Regions from separate parts of the Homo sapiens genome. Here region 1 is linked to region 2. Evidence: promoter capture Hi-C in human tissues and cell types (Jung and others, 2019). All regions are on one chromosome and are shown on one strand. The core of a region is centred on a gene start or on the middle of the fragment in contact, and the rest is flanking DNA. Distances in the headings are between cores, read along the strand shown. Region 1 holds the start of ABHD16B (abhydrolase domain containing 16B). Region 2 overlaps YTHDF1 (YTH N6-methyladenosine RNA binding protein F1).

Region 1 (5,610 bases), core at 1,477-3,976, 650 kb after region 2:
TCTGGGGGCTCTTCTGGAGAGGGGACAGCTCCCTTCCTGTCACATGCTTTCCTGTCTCAACAGAGCCGGGGGTTCTGGGGCACTTGGACTCCCGTGGGCTGGTGGGATCAGGGGCTGGGCCAGACACAGGATGAGGCATGGAACCCCTGGGGGCCAGCGGCTCCAGCCCGCTGACCTCTGCCCCTCAGAATCCGGTCCCAGGCTCTCCCCTCCTCCTCTCAAGAACTTCCTGCTCTGTGTGTGTGTGTGGGTGGGTTGTTGTGGGGGAAGCTAAGGGCAGGTGGGCCTGGCTAAAGAAAAGCCTGCATTTCCAAACAAGTCCCAGAGCAGATCAAGCTGGGAGACTGCCCCCAGGAGGACGAGGCTCCTCCAAGCAGGATCTGCTCAGGGGAATCAAAATAAGGTTTAGTGCGTCCAACATCCTGCGTGGACAGTCCTCCAGGACTCCTGCCGCTGCCAGGATCTGAACTGAGGTGGCAGGGACACCTCCTGTCAGAACTTCGGCTCTGCTGCTGGGTTCACTCCTGTGGTCTCACACAAAATGGGCCGGTAGCCTTTGGGCCCACAGCCCCAACCTGCCTAGAGTAGGCAGCCGCTGAGTTTATGAAAGAGGCTCCTGGGAAAGGAATCATCTCCCACCCTCTGCAGAAGTTTCCATCCCCACCCCTATCCACCAGGCTCCTTTCCCCACAGGGTCAGGGGTGGACACTTGAGCAGGACCAGAACCACCAATCCCCAGGGGAAGCCTTGCCCATCCCTTGGCTGCAGGGGCAGTACCCTGTGTGTTTCCTCCTGGGGCAGGGCTCCTGTTGCTGCCCAGGACCCAGTGGAAAGGATGGTGTGACAGGTGCACCAGTGGACCCTGAGACACCCTCTTTGTCCTCAGGCTTTGACCAATGAGCACAGTAGCCAATCGGAGATCAAAGCTGGATAACCAGGAAAATCTGGATCTCAACTGTGTGTGTGCCTGGGGGTAGGACTGCCAGATTTAGCAAAACAAAAACAAATTTAAAAACAGGGTATATCTAGACCGGGTGCGGTGGCTCCTGCCTGTAATCCCAGCACTTTGGGAGGCCAAAGCGGGTGATCCACCTGAGGTCAGGAGTTAGAGGCCAGCCTGACCAACGTGGTGAAACCCCATCTCTACTAAAAGTACAAAAAGTTAGCCGGGCATGGTGGCGGGCACCTGTAATCCCAGCTACTTGGGAGGCTGAGGCAGGAGAATTGCTTGAACACCCAGGAGGCAGAGGTTGCAGTGAGCTGAGATTGCACCATTGCACTCCAGCCTGGGCGACAAGAGTGAGACTCCGTCTCAAAAACAAACAAACAAACAAACAGAAAAAACAGGATATCCAGTTAAATTTGAATTTCAGATAAACAATTTTAAAATAATGTCTCAAGCAGAAGTTGGAACATACTTATACCCAAAAAGTATTTGTTTATTTGTAATTCCAATTTAACTGGCATATTATTCTGTATTTTATCTGGCAACCTAGAATGGGGGTAATAGCCCCCCAAATCGCTCCCTTTGTTAATTGGTCCCTGTCTTCTGTCCCCCAACCCCTAAAGGCAGCAGCTGACTCCCCCAACTAGGGGCGGGGCCTGTTAGGGTCAGGCAGTGCCTCTAACCCAGACGCTGAGCAGGAGAGCAGAGAGGGGGTGCTTCAGCCTGAAACTACCCCTTCCCCAGAAGGCTGGGGTCCCAGGCGGGCCTGGCACCTGGGCTCAGAGGCTCTGGCTGGATTTGCCAAACTCCCTGATTGTAGCATGTTTGTTTCTGGTCTGGGGAGCTGTTGAGTACCTGGAGCTGCCCTCTTCCCTGGGGCTCCTCCTGGCAGGCGGCTTCCGACCCTGCCCTCAGGTGGGCTGGCCCTTTCCAGGGCAGGAGAAAAGATACCTCTCCAGAAAAGAGGGAGGCGCAGCCTGGGAGTGGGGGCTCGACCCAGGAGCGAGAAAGAGGAACCCCAGCCAGGCAGGACCCGCCCCAGAAGGTCACTGCTGTTGCTGGCAGCCAGTGAAAAGAGGATCCAGAAAAGGAGAGGGCTTGTTTCTGGTCAGCACCGAAGAAGGAAGGTGTGGAGAGGAGGGGCCGGGCCGAGAGCAAATACCGCCTTTTTGGTGCAGCAGCAGCCCTGTCTCTGACCCCGGCCGTCCTGGGGAGATGAGGTTTAAACCAGCAGACCCTGAAGGGAAACTTGCAGGACCCACAGCAAGCCTGGTACAGGCGGAGGAGGCCTTGCTGTCCCTTTTTGGCCCGTGGGGCTGTCCATCTTAAATTTAAGGAAGAGGGAGGCGGGGTGCAGGGACTCACACCTGTAATCCCAACACTGTGGGAGGTGGAGGCGGGGTGCAGGGACTCACACCTGTAATCCCAACACTGTGGGAGGTGGAGGCGGGAGGATCGCTTGAGCCCAGGGGTTCAAGACCAGCCTAGGCAGCATAGTGAGACCCCATCTCAATTTAATAAATAAATAAGGAAGAAAGAGGGAGACAGTAGCTGCTCAAATCATGGGTGGGAAAGCTGGGCCTGGGAGCGTTTAGCTGGTGGGGTCTTGGCGAAGGCGGGGGACGGGCAGAACCTTGGGTTCATCATCTCTGGGAACCCTTTGTGCACCCATCACCTAGCAACAGGATGCAGCCTTCCCTCCGCCCTGGAAGGCCAGGTCACAAAGGCCATCAGGGCTTGTCCGGGAGCCGGTATCCCCTAAGACTGCCCTGTGCCTCTCGCGGCGATCCCGGCCCAGCGGCTGGGCGTTAGGGCCACCGCTCATGTGCGTCATCTGCTTCGTGAAGGCGCTGGTGCGCGTGTTCAAGATCTACCTGACCGCCAGCTACACCTACCCATTCCGCGGCTGGCCCGTGGCCTTCCGCTGGGATGACGTGCGCGCCGTGGGCCGGAGCAGCAGCCACCGGGCGCTGACCTGCGCGGCAGCCGCGGCGGGCGTGTGGTTGCTGCGGGACGAGACGCTGGGCGGGGATGCGCTGGGGCGGCCTCCACGTGGGGCGCGCAGCCAGGCGCAGTGCCTCTTGCAGCAGCTCCGCGAGCTGCCCGGCCAGCTCGCTAGCTACGCGCTGGCCCACTCGCTGGGCCGCTGGCTCGTGTACCCCGGCTCCGTGTCCCTGATGACGCGCGCGCTGCTGCCGCTGCTGCAGCAGGGCCAAGAGCGCCTCGTGGAGCGCTACCACGGCCGGCGCGCCAAGCTGGTGGCCTGTGACGGCAACGAGATCGACACTATGTTCATGGACCGCCGCCAGCACCCGGGCAGCCACGTGCACGGGCCGCGCCTCGTCATCTGCTGCGAAGGCAACGCGGGCTTCTACGAGATGGGCTGTCTGTCTGCACCGCTCGAGGCCGGCTACTCCGTGCTGGGCTGGAACCACCCCGGCTTCGGCAGCAGCACTGGCGTGCCCTTCCCTCAGCACGACGCCAACGCCATGGACGTGGTGGTCGAGTACGCACTGCACCGCCTGCACTTCCCGCCCGCGCACCTGGTGGTCTACGGCTGGTCTGTTGGCGGCTTCACGGCCACCTGGGCCACCATGACCTACCCGGAGCTGGGTGCACTGGTGCTGGACGCCACCTTCGACGACCTTGTGCCGCTGGCGCTGAAGGTCATGCCCCACAGTTGGAAGGGGCTGGTGGTGCGCACCGTGCGCGAGCACTTCAACCTCAACGTGGCCGAGCAGCTGTGCTGCTACCCGGGGCCGGTGCTGCTGCTCCGACGCACGCAGGATGACGTGGTCAGCACTTCGGGCCGCCTGCGCCCCCTGTCACCTGGTGACGTGGAGGGCAACCGGGGCAATGAGCTGCTGCTGCGCCTGCTGGAGCACCGCTACCCCGTCGTGATGGCGCGAGAGGGCCGCGCCGTCGTCACCCGCTGGCTGCGCGCTGGCAGCTTGGCGCAGGAGGCCGCCTTCTATGCACGCTACCGCGTGGACGAGGACTGGTGCCTGGCGCTGCTGCGCTCCTACCGTGCACGCTGCGAAGAGGAGCTGGAGGGCGAGGAGGCCCTGGGGCCACACGGACCCGCCTTCCCATGGCTGGTGGGCCAGGGCCTGAGCTCGCGGCGGCGCCGGCGCCTCGCACTGTTCCTGGCTCGGAAGCACCTCAAGAACGTGGAGGCGACTCACTTCAGCCCTCTGGAGCCTGAGGAGTTTCAGTTGCCCTGGCGGCTGTAACCTATATGCCCCAGTGGGGGATCACGCACTTGAACTCCTGGCCTTCTTGGTTCACCTCCCCATACCGCCAACCATTGCAGGGGGCCGGCGCCGACGCGGGGCGGGGCGGGGGGGGGCGCGCGGGGTGCTCCTGATCTGCTGTCTGGGGGAGGGTAGGCAGAACACGGGGACTTGGTGCTCTCCTTCCTTCACAGGGGCGTTCTGACCGTCCTCCCATTCTTCCTAGCTCTGTCCCCTCCTTTCTCTCTTCCTCCTACAAATACTTTTGGCTGCCCCCACCCAGCTCCTAAGGGAATGAAAGGTTAACCTGACCCGGTTTATGGCAATACTGTGTGATGGGTGCCTTGATCACCACAAAAGGATGATGGGAACGGGGCTGTGGGGTCCCAGGGAGGAGCCCTTCACCTGGCCTGGGTTACAGGATGGCTCCTGGGAAGACAATGCCAGCTGTGCGCTGAAAGTCTGTGCAAGCTGCTCCCGTGAAAAGGAGGACATTGGCATGGCAGGGCTGTGGGCAGGTCTTAGTGGCTGGACATTCCCAGGAGTTAGCACTGGCTATCATTCTGTAGGGCTCCCTCCCACCTCCAAACTCCTGGCTTCTACACCAGGGCATTCACAGACAGATTGCAGACTCACATGGTGGCATGTGAGGCTACAGATACACTTGCACAGGCCAGAGGATACTACTGCGTGTCCCCTGGAGCCAGGCCTGGGCTGGACTTTGTTCCTGGCTTAGGGATGCAACACAGAATGGGACAAGGCCTCTGCTCACAATGGTCTGTAATGTCACATCTCTGTGGTCTGCCCTGAACTGCCTGAAGCAGGGACTATTGTCCCTACATGTCCCTAGTCCCCGGGCTGGCCTGGTTGGGTTGAGCAAGAATCTCTGGAAAGAATGAAAGGCAGCAAATGGAGAAAACATTACTGAGAGCACGAGAGCAGGCTAAGGCCGTGGTGGTAAGGGACTCGGGCCTGTGCAAGAGTACCAGGAAGACACCTGTGGGAGGAGGTGGCCGGGTGAAGGAAGGGGCAGTGGGAGGAGCTTCCATGCCTAGGGACCAGTACCACCCCAGGCTGGAAGCCCAGAGTGGAGTCCTAGGACATCAGATCCTAAAGGGCTTGAATACCGTTTAAGGCTTTTCTTCCGGGAGCAAGTAGGAGCCAAAGAAGGGAAGTTGCGGGACTTGTTTTCGTGGGGCCAGTTGCCTGGTGGTTACGCGCCTCTCCTCTGAAGTCAGGCATCCTGTTCCAGAGTATCCTGGTTGCGCTTCAACTTGCGGAGTGACCTGGGGCAAGTGACTTTAACCTCAGCTTCCTCATCTGTGGAGTGGGGAGGGCGCAGCGCTGGTCGCCCTGAACAGGAAGTGAGACAACCTCGGGGTGCACACGCGCAGGCCCGAGCCGCAGGGTCCACGCCCGAGGCGAGGCGGC
Region 2 (5,756 bases), core at 3,202-5,701:
CGGGTTCCACGGCCACACAGGCAGGCTGGATACAGTGACCTGGGGTTCTGTGGGCCGGATTTCCATTTTTACCTCAATCTCACTGACAGCCCATTTCCTATTACATCTGCCATCTTTCCTCCAAAACTCTGAAGGTAAAGAAGCAGGTTAATTTGTAAAGCTATGTGAAGTCAGTCATTCTGTACATAAGAAAACCTGGAGATGCTGTCCTCTGCCTTCTTTATGAGCCACATGTCAGGCTGCTGCCCCACACTCCTTCCCTGGTGAGGGAAGCTGTCCCATTCACAGTCCTGGTCACAGTGCGTGGGAGACAACTGGAAACGCACAGTTCGGGCTGCCTGGAAAACACATGCAGCCTCCTTTCAGGGCCTTTGATCTCCCTTTGTCTCCCGCACAGCCAGGCACAGGTTCAGCGCTCACTCGCTGCCAAGTGCTGGAGGCGAGCTGTGCTGCTCCCTCAACATTCCTTAGTGCCACGGCTCCATGGGCACTGAGTTATGAGTGTGAAAGTTTACTTCTCAGGGATACAGCTGCATTAACCCCGGGCACGGTGACTCATGCCTGTAATCCCAGCACTTTGGGAGGCTGAGGTGGACGGATCACAAGGTCAGGAGATCAAGACCATCCTGGCTAACACTGTAAAACCCCCCTCTCTACTAAAAACACAAAAAATTAGCCGGGCGTGGTGGTGGGTGCCTGTAGTCCCAGCTACTCAGGAGGCTGAGGCAGGAGAATGGCGTGAACCCGGGAGGCGGAGCTTGCAGTGAGCCGAGATCGAGCCACTGCACTCCAGCCTGGGTGACAGAGCAAGACTCTGTCCCCCCCACCCCCCTCCAAAAAAAAGAACAAATTCAAAGCTTGTTCTTAACACATTACTACCTCTGAGCAAGCATATTTTGGTCCTCGTAAATGAGTGGCATAAACAGATCTTTTAAGGACAATACAAGCAAAACCATGATCCTGTTACTCTGCAGCCGCCTCCACAGAAGACTGCTGAACACTTCCACATGCTAGGCGCCTCACTGCAGCCCCTGCGGAGAACTGACGACCTCATCGAAGAAAGGCTAACACATTTTTAGCCGGGCACAGTGGCTCTGGCCTGTAATCCCAGCACTTTGGGAGGCCGAGGCAGGTGAATCACAAGGTCAGGAGTTCGAGACTAGTCTGATCAATATGGTTAAACCCCGTCTCTACTAAACCGGGTATGGTGGCAGGCACCTGTAGTCCCAGCTACTCCGGAGCCTGAGGCAGGAGAATCGCTTGAACCTGGGAGGTGAAGGCTGCCATGAGCCAAGATCACGCCACTGCACTCCAGCCTGGGTGACAGAGTGAGACTCCGTCTCAAAAAAAAAAAAACAAAAACAAACAAAAAAGAACTAAGAGCAGTTTTACATATTTACTCAAATTTAACCACATTAAAAAAAAGAAACTTCCATCCGAATGACCAGAACCATTTAAGTTGAAGTTCAATGGTTAAGTTTACTTCCTATATCCATTTTTCTGAGATGGAGTTGGAATGACCAAAAGGAGAGACTAGAGGGAGAAGCAGAAAGGATCCCTTCAGAAGCCCAAGAGGAACAGAGAGAAGCATTTGCTTAATAAAAACAAACAAACAAAACAAAATAATTAATTATGTAAAATGGAAAAGTATTAAGGGTACTGCTGAAAAGTGAGGGAGTGATATGGCTCCTGGGAAGCAGCTCTGACCCAGGACTGGGAACAGGCCTACCAGGATGACCTGTTCTTCAGGAGAAGCCTTAGGGAGCACAGAGAAAATGTTAGAGGAAAATAACCGAAAAACCCTAATTTACTTACTTGGCTGCTCACTTTTCAGATCTGTTTTCAGGACTGGTCCCTCTGAGGCTGCAATTTCAGCCCCTCAGCTGGTGGCATCAATATGCAGAGACAGCAGTTTCTGACAGAATTTCTGCATTTGTTTCAGCAACTTGCCAGTAAGAAGCACGTTAAGATCCCACTATGTCCTTCCAGCTGCGTTTCTGGGAAGCCGTTGTGATGGCAAATGCCTACTTAGCAGGCGCTGCCACTGGGTATTTTAAGGAAGCCCATATTTTTAGATGCAGCCACAAGAAACTGACACTCCCCTGCTGGCCCTCAGGTCACCCCGGGCCCACCAGAGCTGCCCAGGCACAGCAGGAAGCCCTGTGCCAAGCATCTCCAGGCTGTTCTCAAAGAAGTCCTAGATGCTCTGATGAGGCATTGTGTTCAGTGAAAAAAAACCACCCAAAACCTGATGAGCAATTTCGTCACTGTGTGATCAGTGTCCTCACACAAACAGAGACGTGTGAGCATGGAGGCAGTATCCTTACCACACACTGAGGCCGTAACCTGTACAGTGTGTAACTGTACTGAATAATGGAAGTAACTGTACATCAATGATAAGTATCTGTGTGTCTAAACATTATCTAAACACAGAAAAGGTACAGTAAAAATACGGTATAAGAAATCAAGAACGGGACACCTGTACAGAGCACTTACGGTGAATGGAGCAGGTAGGCCTGAGTTGCACTGGGTGAGTCAGGGAGAGAATGTGAAGGCCTGGGCCCTCACTGGACACCACTGTCACCTTTAGAAACACCGTCCACTTAACACTACACTCAATTTTTAAATTTTCCTTTCTTCAATAATAAACCCTAGCCTACTATGGCTTTTTTACTTTACAAACTACTTTTTTAAAAGCTTTAAGGTTTTTGACTCTTTTGTAAACACAAATATATCATATAGCTGTACAAAAATTTTTTTTGTTATATCCTTATTCCATAAGCTTTTTTCTATTAAATTTTTTTTAACTTTTTGAACTTTTTTGTTATAAATGAAGACACGGCCAGGCACAGTGGCTCATGCCTATAATCCCAGCCCTCTGGGAGGCCGAGGCAGGAGGACTGCTTCAGCCCAGGATTTCGAGAACAGCCCAGGCAACACAGTGAGACCCCATCTCTACAAAAAATCAAAAATAAGGCAGGAAGATCACTTGGGCCCAGGAGGTCAAGGCTGCAATGAGTCATGACTGCACTTCCGCCCAGGTGAGGGAGAGACCCTGCCTCAAAACAAAACAAAACAAAAAAACCAAAAACCCAAAAAGACACAAAAAACACATATTAGCCTAGGCCTACACAGGGTCTGGATCTTCCACCTCCACATCTTGCCCCACTGGAAGGTATTCAGGGGCAACAACACACATGGAGCTGTCATCTCCTGTCACACCAATTGCCTTCTTCTGGATTCCTCCTGAAGAACCTGCCTGAGGCTGCTTTACAGTTGACTTTGTTTCTAGTAAGTAGGCAGAATATGCTCTTAAAAGTATAGCAAATACACAAAGTAGTAACAGTCGTTTATCATCAATTATTACGTACTGTATGGTACTGTACGTAACTGTAGGTGTATACTCTGGTATGACTGGGGCAGTAGGTTTGGTCACACCTACTGCAGCACCACAGACACGAGTAATACACTGCCCTCAACATGGTAGCTCCAACGTCACCAGGTGCCAGGAATTTTTCAGCACCATCATAGTCTTATGGGACCACTATCATATTGTGGTCTGTTGCTGACCAAACTGCATCCGGCAGCACAGGTACAGGCATGCCCAGATGGCCTTGGTAATTTCTGTCAGTGGGATCACAGCAAACACACTCAGTCTGTTGGTCAGGGAGTGTGCAGGAAGCCTGGGGGGCCAGCGGCATCTATTCCCAACTCAGGCATCATGCCAAGACAGTGTCTTCTAAACTCTGAGTAGGAACTGTTCTGGGTCATTTCACAGTCTTTCCTTTCAGAAAACAACAGAGAACTGGGAAACCAGAAGTCCCCGAGCAGGAAAAGCCTCAAAAGAGAGAATCGGCGGGGCACTGTGGCTCATGCTTGTAATCCCAGCACTGTGGGAGGCTGAGGCAGGGGGATCACCAGAGGTCGGGAGTTCGAGACCAGCCTGACCAACATGGAGAAACCCCGTCCCTACTAAAAATACCAAAAAAAATTAGCCAGGCGTGGTGGCGCGTGCCTGTAATCCCAGCTACTCGGGAGGCTGAGGCAGGAGAATCACTTGAGCCAGGGAGGTGGAGGCTGCAGTGAGCTGAGATCGCGCCACTGCACTCCATCCTGGGCAACAAGAGCGAAACTCCATCTCAAAAAACAAAAAAAGAGAGAAAATCACAACAATCAAGCCCAACCCAGAGCCCTTCACTCCCAGTTCCTCTGCTCCCCCAACTCCCATTCAAGTCACAGACTAGAAGACAGATACTGAGCGGCTACAGTCGCAAGCGCCTCAGGGGCAACTAGGACTGAAACTCTAGCACCAGAAGCACAGCAAGGCGGGTGAGGCCTCTCTGAGGGAAGGACCCCCACCACACGGCAACAACCCCTCACAGCCCATTACAAGTTAAACCAACCTAACAGGCAGGCATTCTCCTAAGACTTTCTAAACCATTCTAAGTATGACAGTTTCACACAAAACACGGTAGCCTCCAACTGGCTACTACAAACCATATCTAGATTTTTCTCTTTTAAGTACCCAGGGTTAGGTTGGGCACTAGTGGCTCATGCCTATAATCCTAGCACTTTGGGAGGCTGATGCGTGTGGATTGCTTGAGCCCATGAGTTCAAGACCAGCCTGGGCAACACAGCAATATTTCATGTCTACTAAAAATTTAAAAATTAGCTGGGCGTGGTGGCACATGCCTGTAGTCCTAGCTACTTGGGAGGTTGAGGTGGGAGAATCACCTGAGCCTGGGAAGTCGAGGCTGCAGTGAGCCATGATCACATCATGCACTCCAGCCTGGGCAATGGAGTGAGACCCTGTCTCCAACAAAAAAGGACCCAGAGCTATTGATATGCCCACTATCTTAACTGTGGCCATGGCTCCAAAGGTATGTCTGTGTAAATCAAAAGTTATAAAACCATACTGTATACTCTACATATGGAGCTAAGACACCCACTGACATAAAAATAATCGATTTGTAAAGAAATCCTCCCAAACAACACAAAAGCTCCGACTTTATAAAAATATTTTTGGCTGGGCACAGTGGCTCATACCTGTAATCCTAGCACTTTGGGAGGCCAAAGCAGGAAGATCACTTGAGCCCAGAAGTTCAAGACTAGCCTGAGCAACACAAAGAGACCCTGTGTCTACAACCAACCAATCAATCAATCACCAGGTGTAGTGGTGCATGCCTGTAGTCCCAGCTATTCAGGAGGCTGAGGCAGGAGGATTGCTTAAGCCCAGGAATTTGAGGCTACAGTGAGCTATAATCATGCCCCTGAACTCTAGCTTGGGTAACAGCAGGACCCTGTCTCCAAAATACACACACACACACACACACACACACACACACACACACACACACACACTTTTAAGTGTACTGATGCAACCTCCCTCCCCCTTTATTGGCTAAAATTCAGTACATAATACCATTAAAGTACTAAAATAATAAGAACACACTAGAAAACAAGAAATTCAAAAAATTAGTTAACTTCCTGCCATTACCTCTATCCAAAGGCCCATCACTAAAGTCAAGTCAGTTCTGCCCAGAGGAAGGGCAGATTCTCAGAAGGCAACCAAGAGACAAGAAACAGAAGCAGGGTCGGAGCGCGGGGCAGCGCTGCCGAGGCTCCACCTGTACAAGGTTTCTTGGTCTCTAAGCTGCTTGATTCGCCAAGTGCAGTAGGAGGGAGGGGGATGAAGGAACATTCTAAGAAGTTCTAAGACACCTCAGAAAAGGGCAGACTAGTTTTATTCCTTCACA

The links. The method cuts DNA at HindIII sites, captures the fragments that hold promoters and counts their contacts. A contact is called where the count stands out against the background at its distance.
Region 1: a contact is called between the fragment with the promoter of ABHD16B here and a fragment that was not itself captured in region 2, in 1 of the 25 tissues and cell types used here (lymphoblastoid cells).

The regions. Positions count from the first base shown.
Region 1 is chr20:63,858,772-63,864,381 of GRCh38, forward strand. ABHD16B (abhydrolase domain containing 16B) reads left to right here and starts at 2,727. Exons shown (of 1, transcript NM_080622.4): 1 at 2,727-4,217. The coding sequence starts at 2,770. The coding sequence ends at 4,179. ABHD16B-AS1 (ABHD16B antisense RNA 1) reads right to left here. Exons shown (of 2, transcript NR_165314.1): 2 at 2,444-5,499. RefSeq lists enhancers at 5,227-5,456, 5,550-5,610. The HindIII fragment of the contact is 14,540 bases long and covers 1-5,610 here.
Region 2 is chr20:63,206,648-63,212,403 of GRCh38, forward strand. All of the region lies in intron 3 of YTHDF1 (YTH N6-methyladenosine RNA binding protein F1), which reads right to left. Among named protein-coding and RNA genes, the nearest start is that of YTHDF1, 6.6 kb to the right of the region's middle. The HindIII fragment of the contact is 5,349 bases long and covers 1,778-5,756 here.